Regions from separate parts of the Homo sapiens genome. Here all the other regions are linked to region 3. The links are contacts of gene promoters, found by promoter capture Hi-C in blood cells and fetal thymus (Javierre and others, 2016). All regions are on one chromosome and are shown on one strand. Each heading gives the region's core, a stretch centred on a gene start or on the middle of the fragment in contact. The rest is flanking DNA. Distances are from core to core; before and after follow the strand shown.

Evidence for each region. The method cuts DNA at HindIII sites, captures the fragments that hold promoters and counts their contacts. A CHiCAGO score of 5 or more calls a contact.
Region 1: a fragment that was not itself captured here is called in contact with the fragment with the promoter of ZFC3H1 in region 3 in 6 of 17 cell types (total CD4 T cells, naive CD8 T cells, activated CD4 T cells and 3 more); the score reaches 18.0 in total CD4 T cells.
Region 2: a fragment that was not itself captured here is called in contact with the fragment with the promoter of ZFC3H1 in region 3 in 4 of 17 cell types (activated CD4 T cells, non-activated CD4 T cells, total CD8 T cells and 1 more); the score reaches 11.7 in activated CD4 T cells.
Region 4: a fragment that was not itself captured here is called in contact with the fragment with the promoter of ZFC3H1 in region 3 in 2 of 17 cell types (total CD4 T cells and activated CD4 T cells); the score reaches 7.7 in total CD4 T cells.
Region 5: a contact is called between a fragment that was not itself captured here and the fragment with the promoter of ZFC3H1 in region 3, in 5 of 17 cell types (naive CD8 T cells, non-activated CD4 T cells, total CD8 T cells and 2 more). The highest score is 8.4, in naive CD8 T cells.
Region 6: a contact is called between a fragment that was not itself captured here and the fragment with the promoter of ZFC3H1 in region 3, in 9 of 17 cell types (naive CD8 T cells, total CD8 T cells, total CD4 T cells and 6 more). The highest score is 28.2, in naive CD8 T cells.
Region 7: a contact is called between a fragment that was not itself captured here and the fragment with the promoter of ZFC3H1 in region 3, in 2 of 17 cell types (neutrophils and total CD4 T cells). The highest score is 5.5, in neutrophils.

What each region holds. Positions count from the first base shown.
Region 1 is chr12:66,290,709-66,293,964 of GRCh38, forward strand. It overlaps the pseudogene RN7SKP166. Among named protein-coding and RNA genes, the nearest start is that of HELB, 10 kb to the right of the region's middle. The HindIII fragment of the contact is 9,012 bases long and covers 1-3,256 here.
Region 2 is chr12:66,310,901-66,314,354 of GRCh38, forward strand. HELB (DNA helicase B) reads left to right here. Exons shown (of 13, transcript NM_001370285.1): 5 at 3,086-3,263. Among named protein-coding and RNA genes, the nearest start is that of HELB, 10 kb to the left of the region's middle. The HindIII fragment of the contact is 2,362 bases long and covers 887-3,248 here.
Region 3 is chr12:71,661,541-71,665,227 of GRCh38, forward strand. ZFC3H1 (zinc finger C3H1-type containing) reads right to left here and starts at 2,308. Exons shown (of 35, transcript NM_144982.5): 1 at 1,473-2,308. The coding sequence starts at 2,070. It overlaps THAP2 (THAP domain containing 2), which reads left to right and starts at 2,761. Exons shown (of 3, transcript NM_031435.4): 1 at 2,761-3,040. The coding sequence starts at 2,970. RefSeq lists enhancers at 1,931-2,050, 2,403-2,961, 2,411-2,770. The HindIII fragment of the contact is 1,665 bases long and covers 1,246-2,910 here.
Region 4 is chr12:66,148,056-66,151,753 of GRCh38, forward strand. The region is part of intron 3 of TMBIM4 (transmembrane BAX inhibitor motif containing 4); the gene reads right to left. Among named protein-coding and RNA genes, the nearest start is that of LLPH-DT, 19 kb to the left of the region's middle. The HindIII fragment of the contact is 6,497 bases long and covers 1-3,698 here.
Region 5 is chr12:76,765,062-76,768,788 of GRCh38, forward strand. All of the region lies in intron 1 of ZDHHC17 (zDHHC palmitoyltransferase 17), which reads left to right. Among named protein-coding and RNA genes, the nearest start is that of ZDHHC17, 2.8 kb to the left of the region's middle. RefSeq lists an enhancer at 1-60. The HindIII fragment of the contact is 401 bases long and covers 1,244-1,644 here.
Region 6 is chr12:66,164,928-66,168,626 of GRCh38, forward strand. All of the region lies in intron 1 of TMBIM4 (transmembrane BAX inhibitor motif containing 4), which reads right to left. Among named protein-coding and RNA genes, the nearest start is that of TMBIM4, 3.2 kb to the right of the region's middle. The HindIII fragment of the contact is 5,192 bases long and covers 1-3,699 here.
Region 7 is chr12:76,785,949-76,789,330 of GRCh38, forward strand. The region is part of intron 1 of ZDHHC17 (zDHHC palmitoyltransferase 17); the gene reads left to right. Among named protein-coding and RNA genes, the nearest start is that of ZDHHC17, 24 kb to the left of the region's middle. The HindIII fragment of the contact is 5,143 bases long and covers 1-3,382 here.

The sequences.
Region 1 (3,256 bases), core at 727-3,226, 5.4 Mb before region 3:
AGAAAAGACCCACTCCCATGATTCAGTTGCCTCCCACCAGGTTCCTCCCAAGACATGTGGGAATTACAGGTGCTGCAATTCAAGATGAGATTTGGGTGGGGACACCGCCAAGCCATATCAATGTGCTATTTATCTTAGACCCCTGTGTACAGAGTTCTTACAGGCTCATCCAGCAGCAGTGTAAAAAACAAGTAACCTTGCAATTCAAGTTATTTGTCACTTAGAGATGACAAGAGGTTGTGGTAACTTTGCAACTGTTGTGGTTTTACCCTAAGGTCCCAGAGAAGTGTGTATCTGTTTTACAAATCTCAAACAAAAGAGAGGCAACAAATCAAGGAGATTGATACTATGCTGCAGTGTATGCCTCCTCACAGCCCCAGGTTGGTTCCTGGGTGCATGCAGAGATATTTAGAACACAGAGCTGTGCCTGAACATGTAGCAGCAAAGAGCACGGTCACTGGAGCCTGACTTCTTAGGTTCAAGTCATGGTTCAGCCACTCCCAACTTTAAGCAAGTTATCTAACCTCTCAGCAGAAGTTTCCTCATAAGTAAGATAGATGCTTTAATGTTAACTATTTCATGAGGCTTTTGTGAAGAGTAAATGAGTTAATTGAAGGAGAGGACTTTGTGATGTGTGGAAAGCACAATGTAAACACTCAGTATTAGCCATTATAATTGTTGTTGTTTATAATTAAGGGAGGAAGTTAAATATATAAAATTGTTCTGTTTTCTGAGTGTGAAAGCATTGTCTTTGTACTCTCCAAATTCTGGGGTTTTTTTGTTTGTTTGTTTTCAGAAAAAAAACAAAAACAAAAACAGAGTCTTGCTCTGTCACGTAGGCTGGAGTGCAGTGGCACCATCTCCGCTAACTGCAACGTCAGCCTCCCAGATTCAAACAATTCTCCTGCCTCAGCCTCCCGAGCAGCTGGGATTATAGGTGCCTGCCACCACGCCCGGCTAATTTTTTGTATTTTTAGTAGAGAATGGGTTTCACCATGTTGGCCAGGCTGGTCTCAGACTCCTAACCTCAGGTGATCCACCCGCCTTGGCCTCCCAAAGTGCTGGGATTACAGCATGAGCCACCACTCACAGCCTATGTTTTCTTACATCAAAAATAAAATCTCAGAGATTTTGCATTCTTTAATGAATTCTGCATTGTGTAACACGAGTTATTACTGCATTATGGCTTTGTTTTTTAAAGGAGAATTTTCCAACTCTTTTGAAACTCCCCTGCATCTGCTGTCCATATCTTCATCACATTATCTTTCCACATTCTCCTTCCTGTCTCCCTTTCAGTCATTCTTTCCCTTTTTGCTCATCATTATTCCAACCTAGTTCTTCATATCTCACTTTTCTCCAATGCAGGATGATTTTCTCCCTTCTTGGCCAGAAGTGGATGTTGTATATGAAATCTTGTCACAAATGGAGGAAATTTCCAGCCATTTAAAATAAATCAGGAAAACAGACCTGCTGATCTGAATGTAGTTTATCTTTTGCAACAAGAGTGACTCTGTGGAATGCTCAAATATATTTCTATTCCAGAAAGTCAGTCTTCATCTATTGATGATTATAGATTGCATAAGCATAGCACTTTTCACATGTTCCCTGATTTGCATTCCTTCTATTCAATAATTCATTCCATAGCCCATACAACACAATATCTCATTGTCAATTTTTAATATCTCTACCTTGGTTTCAATCCATCATTCTATCTGAAATAGCAAAACCTCACTACAGTCATGCTCTGTGTTAGTTCATTTTTTGCTGCTTGTAACAGAATACTTAAAACTGGATAATTTATAAAGAAAAGGAATTTGTTTATAACTTAGAGTTATGGAGGCTGGAAAGTCTGAGGTAGAGAGAACATATCTGGTGAAAGCCTTCTTGCTGGTGGAGCAACAGGCGGCATCACATGGTGAGGGGACTGAACATGTTAGTTCAGGTCTCTCTTCTTCTCATAAAGCTACCAGTCCTGGATGTGAGGGTGATCTGTCTGTGACATCTGCCACCCCATTGATAGCCCGAGTTGACTTGGCTGATCTGGCCAGCTAGGCGGTTGTCCCCTTCCTCCCTCACCACTCCATGTGTGTCCCTCCCAAAGCTGTGCTCGGTGAAAGAGGATTACCATCCCTGATAGAAGAGGACTGGTCTTCGGTCAAGGGTATACGGGCAACTGCGCTCCCCTGCTAGAACCTCCAAACAAGCTCTCAAGGTCCACCAGTCCCACTCCCATGATAACCCATTAATCCATTGACCCATTAATCCATGAGTGGATTAATCTATTCACGAGGGAAGATACCTCATGACCCAATCACCTCTTAAATGATATGAAATGAATATACCTCATGACCCTCCTCACCTCTCAGTGCTGCCACATTGGGGATTAAGTTTCAACATGAATTTTTTTTTTCTTGAGATAGAGTGTTGTTCTGTCACCCACGCTAGAGTGCAGTGGCGCTATCTTGCCTCACTGCAACTTCCGCCTCCTGGGTTCAAGCAATTCTCGAGCTTCAGCCTCTCCATAGCTGGGATTATAGGTGTGTGCCACCACGCCTGGCTAACTTTTTGTATTTTTAGTAGAGATGGGGTTTCACCATGTTGGCCAGGCTGATCTGGAACTCCTGATCTCAAGTGATCTGCCCATCTCAGCCTCTCAAAGTGCTGGGATTACAAGCGTGAGCCATGCCGCCTGGCCCTCAACATGAATTTTGCAAGAGACAAATATTCAAACCATAGCACTCTCTATCCCCTTTCTCTCTTTTATCTTTGCTTCTGGTTCTCATCATCATTTGATATTACTTTTACTTGCTCCCTGGCTCCTTCTTAGGATGGATCCTTGCTCCTTCTTAGGATGGATCCTTGCTCCTTCTTAGGATGTACAAGGACTTGGTCTGTTTTGTTTACTGTTATTCTCCAGTACCCAGAACAGTAACTATCCTAAAATATGTATTGACTGAATAAATGAATTGTAGTCATCTACTTCTTAGTAATACTTTGCAAATGTTTGCTTTTTAAAAAGTTATACTTATCATATAGGATGAGATAAATAGTTTTCATAAAATGCCTAACAAAGACCAACATGATCAGCTAGAAACTGATCCCCAGCTCCATCTCTCTGTGGTAGCAGAGTTGATGCATTTTTGTTTTAGTGCTCACCTCAACCATGGCATGTTTGTTAGGAAAGGAGCTTCCAGAAAATGTATTTAGGAAAGCAATTCTTTTTCTTTTTCTTTTTCCTTTTTCTTTTCTTTTCTTT
Region 2 (3,454 bases), core at 818-3,317, 5.4 Mb before region 3:
GCCTGGGCAACAGAGCGAGACTCCATCTCAAAAAGCAAACGAACAAAAAAAATTTACCTTAAAGACAAACTTATTTCTTAAAGCAATCAGTAGGAATTTATTGAATGTTTCCTGGGTCCCTGTCTTGCAGTAACTGATCATTTAGATCAATGCTTTTCAAAGCAGCAGTCTGTAAATTGTTACCAGTTTGCATGAGAAAGGAGCTAATGGTAGAAGTAAATCAGTGCACTGCTTCCTTCTTTGAGTAAGTCTTATGGAAAAAAAAAAAAAACCTATTGGGTTCAGTGCTGTGGTTCCTGTCTGTAATCCCAGCACTTTGGGAGGCCAAGGTGGGAGGATCACTTGAGCTCAGGAGTTTGAGACTTGCCTGGGCAACATAGTGAGACCCCCATCTCTACAAACAATTAAAAAATTAGGTGGGCATGGTGGCATGCACCTGTAGTTCCAGCTACTCAGGAGGCAGAGGTGAGAGGATTGTTTGAGGCTGTGAGGTCGAAGCTGCAGTGAGCCGTGTTTAGACCACTGCACTCCAGCCTGGGTGACAAAGTAAGACCTTGTCTAAAAACAACAGCAAAAATTCAGTCCCACTAGAGTGTAGGCGTAATGATATAGTTAGTTTAGATCCTGGTACAATATCTGTTTCTCATGGGGGCTGGTTACAAACATGTCACAGTCCATAGACCACATTTTGAGTAACATTGGAAATGGAAGTAAAAGGCCTATATTTTGTAGGATGAAAGTGAGGACTTTGCTCATCTGGAATAAGTCTTTATTTCTTCCACCTAGAACAGTGCCAGACAAATAGTAGTTACATAATAAAAATTTCAAATAAATTAACATTCTTGAAAAAAATAGTATTGGCTATAATTAAGAATCATGGAGTTTAAGCTTGTAAAGAGTTGGAGAGGTTCCTCTAGCCCTAGCCCTGACCTGCCATTTTTTAGATAAAGAAACATGGTAGTTGGAAGATTTCTGAAGAAGGTAATCATTGAATTGGACTCCAAGGAACATGGAGACTCAGGTGAGGAGAAGGACATTGGACTTAGGGGAAAGGCCTTTGCAAAGGCATCGAGGAATATGATCGTAGTGTGCCTGGAGGATTTTGAGGTGACTTCATTGACTGGAATGAAGCCTGTGTCTGACAGAATAGTGGAAATTAAACTTGGGTTAGACAGTGAATTCGAGCTTTAAAGTTAGTAAAGTATTTTGACTTATCTCATTACATCCTTGATAAAGTGATGTTATCTCCACATTTACAGAAACGCCAGTTGAAGTGTGGGGATGTTAAACATTTTGCCTAAGATCTCAGTTAGGTGTAGAACTGGGACTTGAAATGGAGATTTCTGGCCTTCCAGCTTGTTGTTCTTTCCATGGTGTCATTATTTCCTCATTTATTACAGATGCTGTACACTAACAATGAAACTCGAACTTGATCTCTTAGGGAGCCATTTAGGTTCCTAAGCAAGAGAGTGAAAGAAGTTTTAAGGAAGATCATATAGAGTCATAGAGCCATGAGCCACTTATCATATCTTGCCTGTTACCTTTATTTATCACATGAATGAATGGAGACCTAGAGATGTTCAGTGTAGTTTATCAGTGGAAGAGTTTTCTGATCAGTTTATGATCTTTTTTTTGTACTATGCCTTCATGTCTGATTAATCTGAAGGATTGAATTAGAAGGGGACACCCGAAAGGGATCATTACCAAGTTTTATCTGATGTGTCAGCTCTGATTAGTTGGTAGTATCTTAATATCTGCTTGGGATGCTGAGTGAGAGAATATTTCTGAAGCTATGTTTAGGCTCAGGAGAGAGTGCAAGAGCACGGAAAGAGCACTGGAGTGCCATTTATCATCCTTGGACTAGGGTTGCCAGATTTATCAGATAAAAATATGAATAATTTTTTAGTATAAGTTTGTATCAAATAATTCATTGACTTGCTTATACTAAAGTCATTTATTGTGTATTTGAAGTTCAAATTTAACTGGATGTCCTGTATTTTATGGGGCAATCCCATCCTGGGATTGTGTGTGGGGGAACCTGGCTGCAAAGCTATTGGAGTCATCAAGTTGCTGATAGATGGAACCTGTATTGAGCTGGTAGCACTAGAAATACAGTGGAAAATGTCAGCATTTCTAAGATAATAAATTGAATATATCAAATAAGAGAAAAGAAATGGCTAATTCCGAATGTTGTGAGACATGGCTACTGTGAGCATAGGGGGTTTTGTTGAAGGGAATTGATGCATTTGGGTAGGAAATATGAAGGCTTTACTTAATAGACAGTTGAATCTAGTTTTAGTAGAAAAATTAGATGAAGATGTGATATGATACCATTTAGAAAATCTGTACATAACACAGATTGAAAATCTGAAATGCTCCAGTGAGTGTTTCCTTTGAGTGTTATGTCAGTGCTCAAAAAGTTAAGGATTTTGGATTTTGAATTTGCAGATTAGGGATACTCAACCTATAAATGTTCATACTGATGACATAGAAACATTTTTGGGATGATATACACTAAAATATTGAATGTTCTCTGGTTGTAATTTTACAACCAATTTTTTTCTCATCTATATTAAAAAATAATAAATAGTATTACATTTGTAATAAAGAATTTTGTTGTTTATTTGTTGTTGGGGGTGGTGCGGTGGTAGTTTTTAAAAAGTTTTGAGGTGAGGAAGTTTGGAGTACTTGAAAGAAAAAGTAGTATTTTCATAATTCGGTTGAGAAAGCGCTGCTTTTATTCCAGAATGGAGTACTATGGTTGGGAGAAGGGAAGAGCTTCAGTGGCATATCTCAGATGGCCACGAGAAGGTTTATTTGGGAATGGAAAAGAATAGGGAGCTTTCTGTGTTTAAGAACGATGAGGGAAGTGTTGAGATTTTGGAACAATCTGATTTTTTGTTTGTTTGTTTTTAGATTTATTTGGTCTGTCTGTTCTGCATATTCAACCCTATAACTTTTGTGTTTCTTTACTTCCCACCCACCCCTGCCAATTTACGAGTTTTGCCCCAAAATAACTTGCTATTAATTTTTGGTTTTGTAGATTTTATAACCTGACTTTAGGAATGCCATACTTTGCTTGTAGGTCAATTATAGCTTCTATTCATGGACTCAAACAATGATGACCACAAACAAACCATGGAAATTTTCTTCGGTTAGAGTTCTGGTTGTGGATGAAGGGAGTTTGGTATCTGTAGGAATCTTCAAATCGGTCTTAAATTTATTGTGTGAGCACTCCAAACTTTCTAAGCTTATTATCCTTGGTAAGTTAAAATATTGTTGGAATTCTGATGTTTATTTCAAAGTATTGTGGTTAGTTGGTTGTTTACACCATTTAGTTGGTTGTTTACACCAGAATTGATACCAAAGCTACACGAAGATACCAAAGCTACATGAAATTAAATCTGACCACTCTCCTAATCAGCTTGGGTTGTTTTGTTTTGGCCAGGATATT
Region 3 (3,687 bases), core at 1,058-3,557:
GGTGCAATCTCTGCTCACTACAACTCTGCCTCCCGAGTTCAATCGGTTCTCCTGCCTCAGCCTCCCGGGTAGCTGGAAATACAAGCACCCAACACCACGCCTGGCTAACTTTTTTATTTTTAGTAGAGACAAGGTTTCACCATGTTGGCCAAGCTGGTCTGGAACTCCTGATCTCAAGTGATCCACCGCCTCGGCCTCTCAAAGTGTTGGGATTACAGGCGTGAGCCACCACGCCTGGCGCCTACATGATTTTCTCCGAAACAATCCTGAAATACTCCTAACCCAACTTTTGGTTGCAGAAGTAAGGTTTTTCAGGGAACTAGCATCAGAAGCTGCTGTTTCTCACCTAAATGTACATTCCTTGCCCCTTTTACATCATGACATTTGAGAAAGACCTATTCTGGACCTAAGTGTTCTATAAAAGTAATTCTGATTGTCTTCCAAATAACTGTCATTACTTTTAAGTTTCATATATAATAACGAAATTAAAAATCATCACACTATGTGAATTACAACCAGTAATGAAAGTCTTTAAACAATTTTTGCAATGATCACAGATTAAGTCAAGATAGTGTTTTACAAACCCATTATAAAACAGGAAACCTTCGGATGATTGATTCCTCTGTATAAATGCTGAGTAAACTCAGTAATGTTTAAAACTGAGAATAAGGTTAGAAGTAGGAAAAATCTGGAATGTTACTATTTCCTTTCTCAACTTACCCGTAATCTCCACCCTCGCATACACATTCCTCCACTCTAACGTATTAAAATAAAAATGCTGATAAGTTTATCTTTCTCTCTCTGGCCCTCATTTAGTCAGCACGAAGTTACACAATGTGCAAAAGTGAACACAGATAGAAACGTAAAGGAGGTAAAGTGTTCCAAAAAGATCAAATGAATCAAAAAGCTCTGAAACAGACTTGGTAAAGACACCAGAGTTGTTTTTTTTTTACCCCTCCCCCCCCCACTTTAAAAGGCAGCAACCGGAATAAATCAAGATAAAAACAGAATCACAAAAATAGTGCAGGACTGTGCAGATTAAAACTTTACAATTTTCAACGTCAAACTGCAATATGATAAAGCAACAATATTACTTAAACTGTTTATGAATATTTTTTCTCTAACAATCCAAGTCAACTTCATATAAAACACAAAGTTTCTGTACCAGCAAAAATACAAATGCTAATGAAACTTGGGCTTCTAAGGTATTATTACAAATCAGACTTAACTGTCTTAGATTTCATAAGCTTAACCCAATCCACAGCACGTTAATATACCCAATGAAGCAGTCTTAAGAATAACGCTATAGTGTGACACATGGGGAATTACCAAAGAACAACTTAAAGTATACTGACACAGGGAGAAATAAGCGGTTCTGATGATTCAAAGTTACACTCGTCTCACAGACCTAGTAATGACGCTAAAGGGAACTTTAGTGACACACCCAGCGCCGACCGCCACGTTAAGGATACAGCTCTTCCGAGGTGGAGAGGGCTCTCGCCAGCTCTGACTGCTGCTGAACCCGGATCCTGCTCCTCCTCCCAGAGGAGGTCTGCACCCCGGCTTGCCTCCTCGCTCACCCACTCCTCGCCCCCGACTCCAGCGACTCCCACCCCGGTAAGGCCTGCCTCGAAAGCGGAAACGGTCCAAGGCGAGGTGGCTCCGCTCCCAGAAAGACGGCCGGGGACTGCTTTCGGACAGTGAGCTCGAAGGCATCCGTACAGAAGGCGGATGAGACCGGAACGGTTCTTTGGGTCGGTAGCTGCTGGGTCCCCTGAGGTGGCCCCGCTCAGACGCGTGCCGCGAGCGTGAGAAATTCCTCAGCTGCTGCTGAGAAGAGGACGATGACGAGGAAGAGCCACCGCCTCCGCCAGATCCACCGCCCCGGGCCGAGTGAGGAGGCCTTCGCCGCGGATAGGGTAACAGCCCGCCGCCGCTGCTGCTGCTGCTGCTCCGACTCCGTATCTGGCTGTTATTATCGTCGTCACTGATTTCCCCATCTTCAAGCTCCCCTTCTTCCTTCGGCGAGAGGCCACTGGAGGCCGGGGCCGGAGTATCTGCGGTCGCCATCCGGGGAGCAGCGCCTTCCACACAACCTTAGCCCTCCGTCCGGGGATCCGCCCGACAATTGCCTCGTTTCCCTTCTTTCCTAACGGACTGGGTCGGTGCGGTCTTACCCTACTCGGACACCAAGCGGCCTCTGCTCCCCAACTTCCCCGCACCCCAGCACCCCAGCTCTCTCTCGCCGGACCGTCGCAACCCAGTTCCCTTTCCTAGCGCCCCCTTGCTCCTCAGCGATCGGGGTTCTTCCGCCTCGCGAGAAAGGGACTCTGGTAGCGGCTGTACCCGAAACGTCACTTCCTGCGACACGCAGGAAACAAAGGCTCCCAGTTCACGCGATAATAAGACCAACTCGATACTCACTAGGATTTGTAGTCTTTCGTCTTTCTTCGGGTTTACTCTTCCGGTCCTAGGGTCACACCCACCGCAGGGTCTGGCTTGGTACAGTTGGGTGCATGCAGAAGTAGGTGGAGCTGCTGTTGCAGCCTTGAGAGAGTTTTATTGTAAAACTCTTGTAATTTATAGTAATCGGAGGGGAAAACACCTCTTCCTTTTAATTGCTCTGAGGACCGCTGCCAAAGAAACGCAGTAGATCCGCTCCCTCTTGGGGGCGGGGAGAAAGAACGGGTTGTGTCCGCCATGTTGGTGAAGTCAAGCGAAGGCGACTAGAGCTCCAGGAGGGCCAGTTCTGTGGGCTCTAGTCGGCCATATTAATAAAGAGAAAGGGAAGGCTGACCGTCCTTCGCCTCCGCCCCCACATACACACCCCTTCTTCCCACTCCGCTCTCACGACTAAGCTCTCACGATTAAGGCACGCCTGCCTCGATTGTCCAGCCTCTGCCAGAAGAAAGCTTAGCAGCCAGCGCCTCAGTAGAGACCTAAGGGCGCTGAATGAGTGGGAAAGGGAAATGCCGACCAATTGCGCTGCGGCGGGCTGTGCCACTACCTACAACAAGCACATTAACATCAGCTTCCACAGGTAACCTGGGCAGGGAGTGGGGGTGACGGAAACTGGAGTTCCTATTGTGGCTATCGCTTGTGTGGAAGGAACAGGAGGATTCTGCTAATTCTAATAACTTTCCCAGCTGGTAGCAGGGAAGCATCGTATGTCCTTTGTGTTTCTCAAATCTGCCCAATTGTTCTCTGCTTTCGGGGAAGCTTTACTCATTTTCTAAAAGAAATCCAAGTACTGTTTGGTCATTACCCCTTAGTAAAAAAAAGTAACAGGAGGATATCGTAATTTTCTACTGTTTTATTCCTCTGTTAGACCGGGCCTTGACATGAATGACGCCGTAAGGGAGAAAGAGATCTTCCCAATCAGCAATCACCGTAAAAGCCTGCTGTGTTCCCGTTAAAATTAGGAAATTCTCACTAGATGAATTGACATGGGAGGCATTTAGATTTCTAATAGTCACATAGTAATTCTGCGGAGGAATTGAGTCATCTTTGATAGCCATGGAATTAAGCGATGTTAATTAAAGTGCAAAAGATAACCTTTCTGTTCTTACTAGAATAGAGTAATAAAAAGAACCTAGGTTTTCTTTTGTTTGCTGGAAGAAAAATCAAAATTCTTTAGTTCTGTCAAACCAGAACTCTTGAAAGCACTTTGAACAATGCCTGGAAAAT
Region 4 (3,698 bases), core at 1,052-3,551, 5.5 Mb before region 3:
AGCAGCCCTGCGAAGTATATGGGGCAGTTAGTAAACCCACCATAATGAAAATGAGACCTCAGTATATTGAGTGGGAATATTAACATTCTAATTCTGATACTATGACTCTTTAAGCTCTAATCGCATATTTGTAACAGGAAGACTATAAATATAGAACATTCTGTTTTTCTTACTGTGTAATATAAATAAAAATACAATTGCAAAATTATGTGCACATTTATAAAACCTCAATACCTCACACAAACATAGGAAGAATAAAATATTTAGGTAGTACTTTGGTGTGGGAGTCTTGAAAGTGTTTCCCAATATTCATTCTCTCTTTCTTCCCTAATAACAGAATTTTTACCTGGACACATGGCTGTTCAGATTAAACTGCATTTTTTCAGTCTCCTTTGCAACTCTAGGTCTGACTACGTAACGATACTCTAGCCAATTTAATGTGACTAAGATAGGAATTCAACTTCTGGATTGTGCTCTAAAAACAAAGAAAGACTTGCTCTCCCCTTCCTCTTCTCATTTGTTTGTATTAATAACTGGATACTCTGTGGCTATGGAAGTGATCTATCTTATACCATATGATCTATCATATACCACTCTAGGAATGCCTGGACCTTAGCAGAAGCGTGGGCCCTTGTCACCTTCACTAAATTGTCATTCAAATTTTTACATGAAGAGAAATAAACTATCTTGTTTAAGCCATTGTTATTTTGTCACTGTTTAAGTCAAGTCAGAAGTAGCTGAACCCATATCCTAAATAAAAGACTTGGGGATACTGAGCCATGTCCTCTAGCCTCCCTTTCCCCTTAATTACAGTATCTTTATTTTGTCTTATATCCTTACTCTAGATAGATTTTATCAATCATCTGATAGACCATATCACAAAGGCAAAGCCAGAAATAAAGGCAGTGGCTGTATAATCACACTCCTGGTAGAAGCATCCCTGTACTCCACCCTACCTGATATCAGGAAACCATCAGCACCAGAGCAAAAATGGTATTAGAAATTGTACATAGATGTGGAGGCAATGGAACTGCTGTCACATTTTAATGCTTTTAGTAGTGCCAGCAAAAATGGTAGCAAAAGATGATAGAAATTTTTTTCTGGGCTGGGCATGGTGGCTCAGACGTGTAATCCCAGTACTCTGGGAGGCCGAGGCAGGTGGATTGCTTGAGTCCAGGAGTTTGAGACCAGCCTGGGTGACACAGCAAAACCCCCTCTCTACGAAAAACACAAAAAAATTAGCCAAGGATGGTGACATGCGCCTGTAGTCCCAGCTACTTGGGAGGCTGGGAGGTGGGAGGATCGCTTAAGCCCAGGAGGCAGAGGTTGCAGTGAGCCAAGTTCGTGCCACTGCACTCCAGCCTGGGTGACAGAGAGAGACCCTGTCTCAAAAAAAAAAAAAAAAAAAAGAAAGAAAGAAATTTTTTTGGGGGGGGCAGGGCAACATGATTATACTATATTCTTGCTATTTATGACAAGATTTTAGGAAAGAAATCCCATACACATTCAAGTATCTAAGGAAACAGGATGGTATAAATAAGAGTTAAGATAAGACTAGGAAAACATGATAATGTCCCTTTAAAACATATACACACATGCTCCTCGAGTTACAATGGGGTTACATGCCAATACACCCCACTGTAAGTTGAAAATATCGTAAGTAAAAAATGTAGCTCAGAGTGTCTTTGGTTAAAGAATCACCAATGCTTAAAGTCTGAAATTTCGTGGTTGCATATTGCTTTGACACCATCATAAAAGTGGAAAACATTAAGGTGAATGATTCTAAGTTGAGGACTATCTATCTATCTGTCTGTCTGTCTATGTGCATGCATACACACACACACACACTCCTACTAGGGCAAGATAAGATTCACCTCCTTTCTTATCTTGGTGGATCAGGACCAAAAAACTCCTAACGTTAAAGGTCCCTGAGTAATTTAAGGAAATGTATTGTACATACTTATTTGTTAAACCATTTTTAGCTATGGGCATGATGAATAGATTTAACAATCAGTGATTATCTTGCCTATAAGCATTTGGTTGATACTTTTCTAGTGGGACCTCTCCCTGCTGGGCAAAAGTTGAACCACACCCTCTTCCCACACAGAAATCAGTCTTTCTGAGAGGAGGCTACATGTAGATGCGAAGAGGAATTCTATATGGCCGTCTTTTTTTTTATACTTCCTCTTTCCTGAGACATAGCTGACTAGGCCAGGAGTTGGCTCTTACCCAAGGCCTGGCAACCCATATATTGACTAACAGCCTACAATGTGACCTGTGCCAACAACCAAGTGTACCAATCAGATTCTTTCTCTCTCCTTTCTTCCTTCCTTCCTTCCTTTTCCTTTCTTCCTCCCTCCCACCCCCCTTTCTTTTTAAGACAGGGTCTCACTCTGTCACTGAGGCTGGAGGGCAGTGGCGCAATCTCAGCTCACTGCAACCTCCACCTCCCGGTTTAAGTGATCCTCCTGCCTCAGCCTCCCAAGTAGTGGGACTACAAGCACGTGCCATAACATCTGGCTAATTTTTGTATTTTTTGCAGAGACAAGGTCTCACTATGTTGCCCGGGCTGGTCTCGAACTCCTGAACTCAAGCAACATGCCTGCCCCGGCCTCCCAAAGTGCGGGGATCACACAGGCGTGAGCCACCACGCCTGGACCAGATTCTTTCTGACTCAGGAATCTGAACTCAGAGATTGAAGCAATGGCAGTGGGAGCTAAAGTTAAATGACTCTGGGGGCAAACAATGGGTCATATAAAAATTAAAGATAGAAAAAGGGAAAACAATGTATAAGGACAACTGAGGTAGAGAAGAGATGTAATAGAACAAGGGAGAGGGGAACACAAACATTTGTCACTGAATTTCCTATGATATCATCATTTCTGGAATCTTCCTCCAGTTCTCCAGTTCATCTTCTTGAAGAGGATTTGGGTTGGTGGGTTCTCAAGCTCTTACATCCTTAAACTCCTTGTTATTTGCAATAACTTGAGTTAGAATTGACAATCTTGCAAACAAAAGAGCTTAAGATTTAAATGAATAATCTTTCCTATTACTGAAACTTTCAAAGTCATCAGCTTTTCATTTTAACACAAACTCATTATCAGAATTCATAAACTTTTTAGTTTAAAGCATTTTAATCTAATCAATAGCTTTTCCCACTCGTATTTGACTACAAGTATTCTTTTTTTGTTTGTCTGAGATGGGGTCTCACTCTGTCACTCAGGCTGGAGTTTAGTCACGTGATCTCAGCTCACTGCAGCCTCCACCCCGCAACCCCGTTACAGTGATCCTCCCACCTCAGCCTCCCAAGTAGCTGGGACTATAGGTGCACACCACCATGCCCAGCTAATTTCTGTATTTTTTTGTAGAGGTGGGGTCTCACTATGTTGCCCAGGCTGGTCTCAGACTCTCGGACTCCAGCAATCTGCCCACGTCAGCCTTCCAGAGTGCTGGGATTACAGGCATGAGCCACTGCACCCACCCAAGTATTCTTAATATTACTTTGGAATGTTCTGAAGTAAATTTTTAGGTTAGAATCTAGTCATACTGGATGAGAAGAGGCAAAATAATTTTTTAGACAGATAACTTGAGGCTTATCCCCTTATTCTGGTCATATTCTAAACTGAATTTTCATAAGTGGTAGTTTGGGTTTTAATTTTCACAAATATCTCAACATACATGACTTAAAGTTGGGTTCT
Region 5 (3,727 bases), core at 194-2,693, 5.1 Mb after region 3:
CTCCGAGTTTGTAGCTGAGCTAGTGCTAGTTAAGGCTTGGAAGCAATTCTTGATGCATTCTGATTTTTAGTGATCCACAGTGATGTCTGTATGCGGCAGCGGCACAGTTTGCTGAAGAACTCGGGTAGTTTTCATGAGGTTAAAAGATGACAGTCGTGTTGTAGGATGAACAAACATGGAAGTCTCTACCTGGTTACTTTGCAATGGAGTGATTCTGTTTTTTTCTGGATTTGGGTTTGTACCATGCCACTAGTTTTTGTTAAAAAGTGAATAATGACAACCATCCTTTTATGTTGCATGTTAACACTCAACCACCCTCTCATTCGTCACTTTGGTTTATCAAAAACACATGGGACAGTTCCTTCGGAATATATACCTGTGCCAGTCTCAGTAGAAAAGGCTACTCTGGGTTTCTGATAAACAGAACTATACAGTAAGACTAAACACTTGTCTGACCAAAGTGGTAACATTTTCAGAACTGGCATTGTAGACATCTCTTTTGGTTCACTTAGGCCCTAACATACGTCAGGAAATAGACAAAGTAGTTTTCAGATGTTGCCTTGAAAATGTTGCTAAGTGATTTCTATTCATCTGTTCCTGTGAAAGTATTCGTGAAAGTATTTCAAACACTTAAGTGTTTATCCAGTTTATTTTTTTGAGACGGGGTTTCTCCCTGTCCCCCAGGCAGGAGTGCACTGACACGATGACAGCTCACTGCAGCCTCTACCTCCAGGGCTCAAGTGATCCTCTCCCCTCAGCCTCCTGAGTAGCTGTGACCACAGGCTCGCGCCACCATACCCGGCTGATTTTTTTATTATTTGTAGAAGAAGAGGTCTCCCTATGTTGTCTAGGCTGGTCTTGAACTCTTGAACTCAAGTGGTCCTCTCACCTTAGCTACTTAAAGTGCTGGGATTACAGGCATGAGCCACCATGCCAGGCCTATCTTACGTATTTTAGCATACTGTTCTTCATAAACCTTTGCTTTGTAATATAGTACTGTTGTTTGCTACTTTAAGAATAATTTTAACTGGCAACAAATCCAGATTATTTGGTGTAGTAGAATGGCCAGTATAGGCTTGAAATTTAGCTACCGATCTTCAGGTTGCCATTCGATAGATAGGATATTACTAGAAAGTCAACCTCCTCATCATTGATAGTGGGAATTGGCATACATAATATATACCGTTCCTTTTTACCCAAGAAGCACAAGGTCTGATTATTTTAATACTTTGGATGGACCTTAAGCTTGTACTACATGGCTGAGGTCTTTCTGCATTTTCTGTGGTTAGTGTGTGCAGCTGGTGCAGACCTGGGGTAGTTCTGCTGCCTCCTAGCAGTGTGTTCTTGGGCAAGCTATGAATACGTCTCTGAGTTCTAGTTTCATCATTTATAATGGATAAAAATAATAGTTAATAAGCTATAGCGAGGATTAACTGAGATAATATGTTTTTGTTGTTAAAATAAGCAGTGTTTTCAGTCTCCTTTGGGAAGAAACCCATTCTCTGTCTTGGTAAGTAATGAAATAATAGTACTTTTAACCTCTTTTTGGAGAGAACATAGACTTTGGGTCAGACAGACTTGGATTCTAATTCTGGAAATTCGGTAACTAGCTAAGTGACCTGAGACAAGTGCTTAATTTCTTTAAGCTTCAGTTGTAATCAGAAAATGGAGATCCTGGCTGGGCTCGGAGGCTCACACCTGTAGTCCCAGCACTTTGGGAAGCCGAGGTGAGAGAATCACTTGAGCCCAGGAGTTCGAGACCATCCTGGGCAACATGGCAAAACTCTGTGTCTACAGAAAATACAAAAATTAGCTGAGCATGGTGGTACACGCCTGTAGTCCCAGCTAATCGGATGCTGAGGTGGGAGGATTGCTTGAGCCTGGAAGGTTGAGGCTGCAGTGAGCCATGATCGAGCAGCTGTACTCCATCCTGGGTGACAGAGCAAGATTATGTCTCAAAAAAAAAAAAAAAAGAAAAGAAAAGAAAATGGAGATGCTGCCTAGTTTACTTGGCTGTAAGGGATTAAGTGAGGCTATATGTTGAGGGTCAAGAACTGGCACATTGTAGGTGCTCAGTTAATGTTACTTCTTTTTTCTCTACCAGAAGAAAGGGAAGTGTTACACATTTATTTTGGTTTTGGTGACTGATTTAAAACTTATGTGGGTTTTAATTTAGTGGAATAGGATCTTGCAGGAACAAATTTCATTTCACTTTTTATCTTCCAATTTAATACTCTCACACAAAAACAGTTTTTCACTTTAGTATTTGTTAAGCAGATGAATTATTTGTGGGTAAAGAAATGAGCATTGCTTAAATCTCTTATTAGTATGCAAACTGCCCACTGTTAAAACCTTTCTTAGAGGATTATACAATTAGATAAACGCCTTTTTAGAGGTATTTTAGGTAAGATAATCTTACTTTTTAATGAATTAAATCATCCACTCATTTAGTTGGTCATTTAAACATTTGTTTGTCATGTTTGGGTAAGGAATTGTGCTGGAGTCTGTGTGAGACTTCAGGATATTTTTGGTGTTCAGTGAGAGGCAGTGTAGAATACTGGTTAAGAGCCAAAGTTGGCTGGGCGTGGTGGCTCACGCCTGTAATCCCAGGGTTTAGGGAGGCCGAGGCGGGCGGATCACCTGAGGTTCGGAGTTCAAGACCAACCTGACCAACATGGAGAAACCTTGTCTCTATTAAAAATACAAAATTAGCCATGCGTGGTGGCACATGCCTATAATCCCAGCTCCTCAGGAGGCTGAGGCAGGAGAATTGCTTGAACCCGGGAGGTGGAGGTTGCAGTGAGCCGAGATTGCACTCCAGCCTGGGCAACAAGAGCAAAACTCTCTTAAAAAAAAAAAAAATCCAAAGCTGTGGTGACAAACTGAAAATGTAGCTTCTGCAGCTTACTGTTATCATGGTCAAAGTACATTTTTCTCATTTGTAAAGTTGGGTTAATAGTGACACCTTTTACAGTTATTGTGAATATTAACTAGGCTAATGTTTATAAAGCAGTTTTCATAGACCTAGGCACATAGGCTGCCAAGCAAATTGTACCTTCTGAAGGCCCTGGCATATAGTGAATACTGAAAGGGAAGCTGCTGTTACTTTGTTTTCTTTTGAAATAGGTGATTATTTGTTTTATTGAAATGAAAGAAATTAAAGGCTCTTTGGATAAAGAAGAACTGATGATCAAGGGATTAGGGTACTAGTTCTAGCTCAGTGACCTTGAGCTAGTAGGTATTTAACTGGTCTCAGTTTTGTTGCTTTTAAGATAAAGTAGCTAGACTAGATGACCTCTAAGATTTCTTCAGACTCAAGTGTTCTGGTTTTAAATTGTGATTTTTCAATATAATCAACTTGAGCATCTGTCTACTAGGTACGTAGCATTGTGTTAGGTTATATGGGTTAAAATAACATAAAAAAGATAGCATATGTTTTCCAGAAGGTAAATAACTAGTTGGGAAGTTGTAGGCACGTGAAACACTGGACGATTCAAATAAGTACTGAATTAAGTAATGTAGCTTGTAAGTGGTGTCAGATTCCTGTCATTTAGAGTGGTTAGAAGAAAGGCTTCCGTAGAGGGACAGAGACCATATGTTGGTCTACTGGTCCAGCAGACTAGCCATGACCAGCTTCCATTTTACCTACTAGTACATCCTCAGTAAGTCATCTCAGCTCTTTGATAGAATGAGATCACAATATCCCCTTCTGCCACAGTATCACAGG
Region 6 (3,699 bases), core at 523-3,022, 5.5 Mb before region 3:
ACTAACAATGAGAAGGTTGGAAAGAAAGTTAAGAAAACAATTCCATTTACAACAGCATCAAAAGGAATAAAATGCTTAGGAATAAACCTAACCAAGAAGACAAATTTGAAAACTACAAAACACTGATGAAAGAAATTAAAGACAAAAATAAATGGAAACACATCCATCATTATACATTGGAAAACCGATGTTCATACTACCCAAAGTAACCTACTTTGGGTAGATTTAATGCAATCCCTATCAAAATCCCAATGGCATCTTTCACAGAAATAGAAAATCCATTCTAAAATGTATATGGAATGTCAGGGGACCCCAAATTGCCAAAACAATATCTAAAAAAAACAACAAAGTTGGAGATCTCACATTCCTGATTTCAAAACTTATTACAAAGCCACAGTAATCAAAACAGTGTGGTACTAACATAAAGACAGAGACATACAGACCAATGGAATACAACAGAGCTCCAATAATAAATCCTGGTATATATGATCCTTTTTTTTTTTTTTTTCAGACACGGTCTCCCTCTGTTGCCTAGGCTGGAGTGCAGTGGCACAATCACAGCTTGCTGCAGCCTCGACCTCCCAGGCTCAAGTGATTCTCCCACCTTGGCCTCCAAAAGTGTTAGGATTACAGGCGTGAACCACTGCACCCAACCTTGTGAATCTTCTTTAGTGGGGTATGTGTTCAAGTCTTTTGCTGTATTTTATTCAGGCTATTTGTCTTCTTATCGTTTAGAGTTCTTTTGTATATTTTGGATAACAGTCCTTTATTAGATATATCTTTTGCAAATATTTTCTCCCAGTATGTAGTCTATCTTATTTTCTTGACTTCTTCACTTTAAAATCAGGTTGTTTTTTGTTATTGAATGGTAGGATTTCCTTATGTATTCTGGATATTAGCCTCTTACAGGATATATCATTTGCAAATATTTTCACCCATTTTATGGGCCTTTTCACTCTGTTGAATGTGTTCTTTGATACACAGAAGTTTTAAATTTTGATGTCATCCATCTATTTTTACTTCTGTTGCCTGTTTTTGGTGTCACGCCCAAGAAATCCATTGCCAAATCCAATGTCCTCCTATGTTTTTATCTAAGAGTTTTATAGTTTTAGGTCTTACATTTAGGACTTCGATCTTTTTTGAGGTAATTTTTGTATACAGTTTAAGGTAAGCATCTAATTTCATTCTTTTGAATGTGGATATTCAATTTTCCCAACACCATTTGTTGAAGAGACTGCCCTTTTCTCATTTGATTGGCTGGGCACAGTGGCTTATGCCTGTAATCCCGGCACTTTCGGAGGCCAAGGTGGGTGGATCACTTGAGCCCACGAGTTTGAGACCAGCCTGACTAACATGACGAAACCTGTCTCTTCTAAAAATATAAAAAATTAGCTAGGCATGGTGGCATGTGCCTGTAGTTCCAGCTACTCAGGAGGCCGAGATGGGAGGATCACTTGAGCCTGGGACATTGAGGCTGCAGTGAGTTGTGACTGTACCACTGCACTCCAGTCTGAGAGACAGAGTGATACTTTGTCTCAAAAAAAAAAAAAAAAAAAAGAAAAAGAAAAAGAAAAAGGAAGAAGAAACACAAATGGCAAATAAGTATATGAAAAGATGCTCAACATTATAAGTCATTAGAGAATTACAAGTTAAAGCAACAAGGAGATGCCACTACACACCTATTAAATGGTCAAAATCTAAAACACTGATATCATCAAATGCTGACGAGTATGTGGAACCAACAAGAACTCTCATTCATTGCTGGTGGAAGTGCAAAATAGTACAGCCACTTTGTAAGACAGCTTGGTGATGTCTTATGAAACTAAACATTCTCTTACTATACAACACGGCAATTGTGCTGCTTGGTATTTACCCAAATGAGTTGAAAACTTATGTCCACACAAAAACCTGCACATGGATGTTTACAAAGCAGCTTTATTGACAAAACTTGGAAGCAGGCAAGATTTCCTTCAGTAGGTGAATGAATAAACTGTAATGCATCCAAACAATGGAATAGTATTCAGCACTAAAGAAAAATGAGCTATCAAGCCATGCAAAGACATGTAGAAAACCTTAAACGCATATTATAAGTGAAAAAGGCCAATTTGAAAGGTTACATGATAATTCCAACTATACAGCATTTGGGAAAAGACAAAACTATGGAGACAATAGAAGATCAGCAGGAAGGGAGGGATGAACAGGCAGAGCACAGAGGAAGGCAGTGAAACTATTCTGTATGATACTATCATGGTGGATACATGTCATTAAACATTTGTCAAACTCATAGAATATACAACACTAAGAGCGAACCTTAACGTAAACCTTGGTCTTGGGTGATAATGAGGTGTCCAGTCTAGGTTCACTGATTGTAACAAACATACCACTCTGGTACAGAACGTTATTAGTGCAAGAGGCTTGGGGAAAAGCAGAAAGGGTATATAAGAACTCTGTTCTTTCTGCTAAATTTTGCTATGAACCTAAAATTGCTTTTAAAAAATTAATTGGGCAAAGGACTTGAATAACATTTCTCCAAGGAAAATGTATAAATGCCCCACACGCATACTTTTAAAATGTGCAACATCATTAAATCATTAGAGAAATGCAAATCAAAACCAAAAGGACATACCACCTCACACTCATTTGATGGCTATTTTCATTTTAAAAAGAAAGAAAAGAACGGAATGTGTTGGCAAGGATGTAGAAAAAGGTGAACCCTTGTGCACTGTTGCTGAGAATGTAAAATGATGTAGCCCCTATCAAAAACAGTATGGCCGTTCCTTAAATAATTAAAAATAGAACTACCACACAATCCAGCAATTCCACTTCTGGGTATATATTCAAAAGAATTAAAGCACGGTCTTGAAGAGGTATGTGCACACCTATATTCATGACAGCACTATTCAAAGTAGTCAAGAGGTAGAAGCAACACAAATGTCCATCAATGGATGAATAAACAAAATTTGGTATATACATACAAAGTACTACTACTGTCTTAAAAAGGAAATTCTGCAGCCAGGTGCAGTGGCTCATGCCTGTAATCCCAGGACTTTGGGAGGCTGAGGTGGGAGGATCGCTTGAGTCCAGGAGTTCAAGATCGGATGGGGCAACATGGAGAAACCCGTCTCTACCAAAAGTACAAAAAAATTAGCCAGGCCTGGTGACCTGCATTTGTAATCCCAACTACTCGAGAGGCTGAGGCGGGAGGATCACCTGAGCCCAGAAGGTAGAGGCTGCAGTGAGCAGTGATCTCACCACTGCACTCCAGCCTCGGTGGCAAAGCGAGACCCTGTCTCAAAAAAAAAAAAAAAGGAAATTCTGACATATGCCACAACATGGATGTATTTGAAGACATTATGCTAATTGAAAAAAGCCAACCACAAAAAAACAAATACTGATTGTATCTAGAGTAGCCAAATTCACAGAGAGAGAAAGTGAAATGGTGGTTCCAGGGACTGGGGGAAGGAAGGAATGGGGAGTTAATAGGTATAGAGTTTCAGTTTTGCAAGATTAAAAAGTTCTGGATATTGGATGGTATATAAGTTTAGTCTAAAGCTATGCCTTTAGATATTTTAAGTTCAGCCTAGGGGTTCTCGGTATATAGTGAACTATAACCTAGTAAACAGGCTGTAACCTACGCTTGAACCAATCACTGAGTTTCAGCCAAAGATGGCCACGTGTTCAAACCATGTTCAAACGGGC
Region 7 (3,382 bases), core at 380-2,879, 5.1 Mb after region 3:
GTAAGGGAGTGATAGGGACAGTAATATGGGTAGACCATTTGTGATAATATTAATACAGAGGAAGGGACGGATTTATTTTGAGAAAAGAAGCATTGCGACTTGGTGAATATTTGAAGCTGTGGGATAAAGAATCAAGGGGGAATTAGTTTTCTTTTTCTTTCTTTTCTTTCTTTCTTTTTTTTTTTTTAAAGAGATGGGATCTTGCTCTGTTGCCCAGGAGTGCAGTGGTGTGATCACAGTTTACTGTAGGCTCAAGTGATCCTCCCACCACAACCTCCTGAGTTGCTGGGATTACAGGTGTGTGCCATTAAGCCTGGCTAATTTTTTTTATTTTTATTTTTATTTATTTTTGAGACAGAGTCTTGCTCTGTCGTCCAGGCTGTAGTGCAGTGGCACGATCTGGGTTGAAGTGAATCTCCTGCCTCAGCCCCCTGAGTAGCTGGGATGGCAGGCACCTGCCACCATGCCTGGCTAATTTTTGTATTTTAGTAGAGATGGGGTTTTACCATGTTGGTCACACTGGTCTTGAACTCCTGAACTCAAGCAGTCCACCCGCCTCGGCCTCCCAAAGTGCTGGGATTACAGGCATGAGTCACTGTGCCTGGCCTTTTTAATTTTTATTTTTAGAGACAGTCTCACTATGTTCCTCAGGCTGGTCTCAAACTCCTGGCCGCATGTGGTCCTTCCCCATCAGCCTCATGAGTTGTGGGGATTATAGGTATGCACCACTGCACCCAGCTGAATTTTTCTAGCTTGGACATTTTGATAGTTAGAAATGCCTTCTAGTAAATAGCACAGGAAAGGTGGAAGTATAAATTTTGGGGATGGTGGAAAGGAAAAAAAAATCTTTAGATGATCTTCTAAAATTGCATATCTAATTCTGTTACTTCCTTCCTCAAAACTCCCTGATTGATCTCCGTTGCCTGCTGAACTAGATGCCTAAATGTCTTTACTTATTCTCAGTCGAAGATGGGGTTTTTGCACTTCTCCTAAGAGATAGTTTACAATACTTCTTAGGATTTTCAGTTACGTATCTTTGCCATTCAAATTACATTTTGGTAATTACATTTAGATAATTTACATGTGCACTTGATGCAAACATTTAAAAAACCAAAATAAAACAACTTAAAATACTTGAAGGTACTTCTTCCTTGAAATTTTCCAGAGTCGTTTTATGTCTGCCCTAGTTTTTTGGGCCCTAATGGAAATGTCACCACGACTTGAGTGTGGGCTGCTGATAAGAACAGTTGGCCTGTGGTAGAGAAGGGAGGTCAAGGGGAAGAGTGAAGGTCACTTTCATAATATTATCATCAACTAGGAGATACATAAAAATAATACTGGTCATAATCTTTACAGGATGAAATCGAGAATCTCCAATGAAATATTAAATTGGCCATATTCTATAATGTAACAGCCTGTTGGCATTTTTATGCCCAATCAAGTGGGCATTTTTATCCATATACAGTGTTATGCATTCCCTGGAATATATTTGAATAAGGATGATTGAACAGCTTTATGATGAAGAAACACTAAATACATTGACTATTAAAAAATGGAGGAAAAATAATAGGAAATAAGGAAGTATTCTCATTTTACTTTTCCAATATTGCATTTGATGTTTTTGCCAATGCCATCGGCCATAGAGTGAAAACACACACTCTGTCTCTCCCTCTCTCTCTCTCTCTCTCTCTCTGTCTCTTGTGTGTGTGTGCGCGCGCAGGAGAGTTGATGGTATTCTTACAGTATTCAAAGGTATCTAAAATCAGAGATGATATTTTAACATTGTGGCTGGATATAAGATAAATCTGTGAACATTAGTAGTAAAACCATATACTAGTTATAACCAGCTCCAAAATACAATGAAAATGATTTATATAGATCCATTTACACACTACTTACCAAACTAAACAACTCTCAGAATCATATTAGTCCGGATAAGCTATGTTTTGCTGCAGTAACAACCCTAAATTTCAGTGGCTTAGCTGAGTGTGGTTGTGTGCACCTGTACTACCAACTACTCAGGAGGCTGAGACAGGAGGATTGCTTGAGCCCAGGAGTTCCAGGCTGTAGTGGTGATGATCACGTCTGTGCATAGCCACTGTACTCTAGCCTGGGCAACATAGTGAGACCCTGTCCCTTAAAAAAATGTTAGTAGTTATGCTACACATACATTGTGGGTGGGATAGTAGGTTTTCTATCCAGTGATTATCTCTACTCTCTAGAAGATTGCCAGTCTCCTTGGCAGATGGAAAGAGAGACTGGGGAATTGCATGTTGGCTCTTAAACTTGTTCTCTGAAAGCAACAGATCCTTTTTATTCATATTCCATTGGTTAAGATCACATGGTCAATCACTTGGACACACTTATCTTTCAAAGGGCCAAGGGTGTACAGTTCAACTTTGTACCTGAGAAGAGAACTGAAAATATTTCATGAATAGCACTAATAATTGTAGCAGTATTGAAATATAAAAATGAAAACCAAAAAAGCACAAGGAAAAGATTAATACATGTGACTATAAAGGGTATAATCTCTGAATTATATTGAAAGCATAAATGAACAGTTCTAAACATGGAAGTCTTTAGATCAGTATGAAAAAGATTAATCTATATATAAAAGTGTAATACAAATATATTAAGCAGATTTCAGGAGTCAAGTACAATAAAATGACCAAAAGATATGAACAGGTAATTCCCAAAAGATGAACTAGGATAGGAAAATATATTTAAGTTGGAATCGCAATTTTTTTTTTTTTTTTTTTTTTTTTTGAGCAGAGTTTCGCTCTTGTTGTCCAGGCTGGAGTGCAGTGGCATGATCTCTGTTCACTGCAACCTCTGCCTCCCGGGTTCAAGCGATTCTCCTGCCTCAGCCTGTCGAGTGGCTGGGATTACAGACATGCACCACCACGCCCAGCTAATTTTGTATTTTTAGTAGAGACGGGGTTTTCTCCATGTTGGTCAGGCTGGTCTCAAGCTCCCGACCTCAGGTGATCCGCCTGCCTTGGCCTCCCAAAGTGCTGGGATTATAGGCATGAGCCACCGTGCCCAGCAAGTCTTTCTTACTCTTTAAATAGTGGAGAATTTAAAAATAACACCCAGTGCCAGTGAGTTTATGGAGAAATAGTTAATCATGTATTGCTGTTTGGATTATAATTCTTTTGCAAAACAATTTAGATACCATGTCAAGAACCATAAAAATATTCATACTCTTTAAGAATCCGTCTCTAGGAGTTTACCCCAGTTAAAATGAAGAAATATTAAATGAGTTAAAGAAAATATTTTTCAGTAGTGAGGAAGAATCCATCCATTTATTCTTTCATTTCATTTAAGGAGACCAGTATTATTTGTGCTAGGCTCTGTCCTAAGCACTGGACATACACAAATG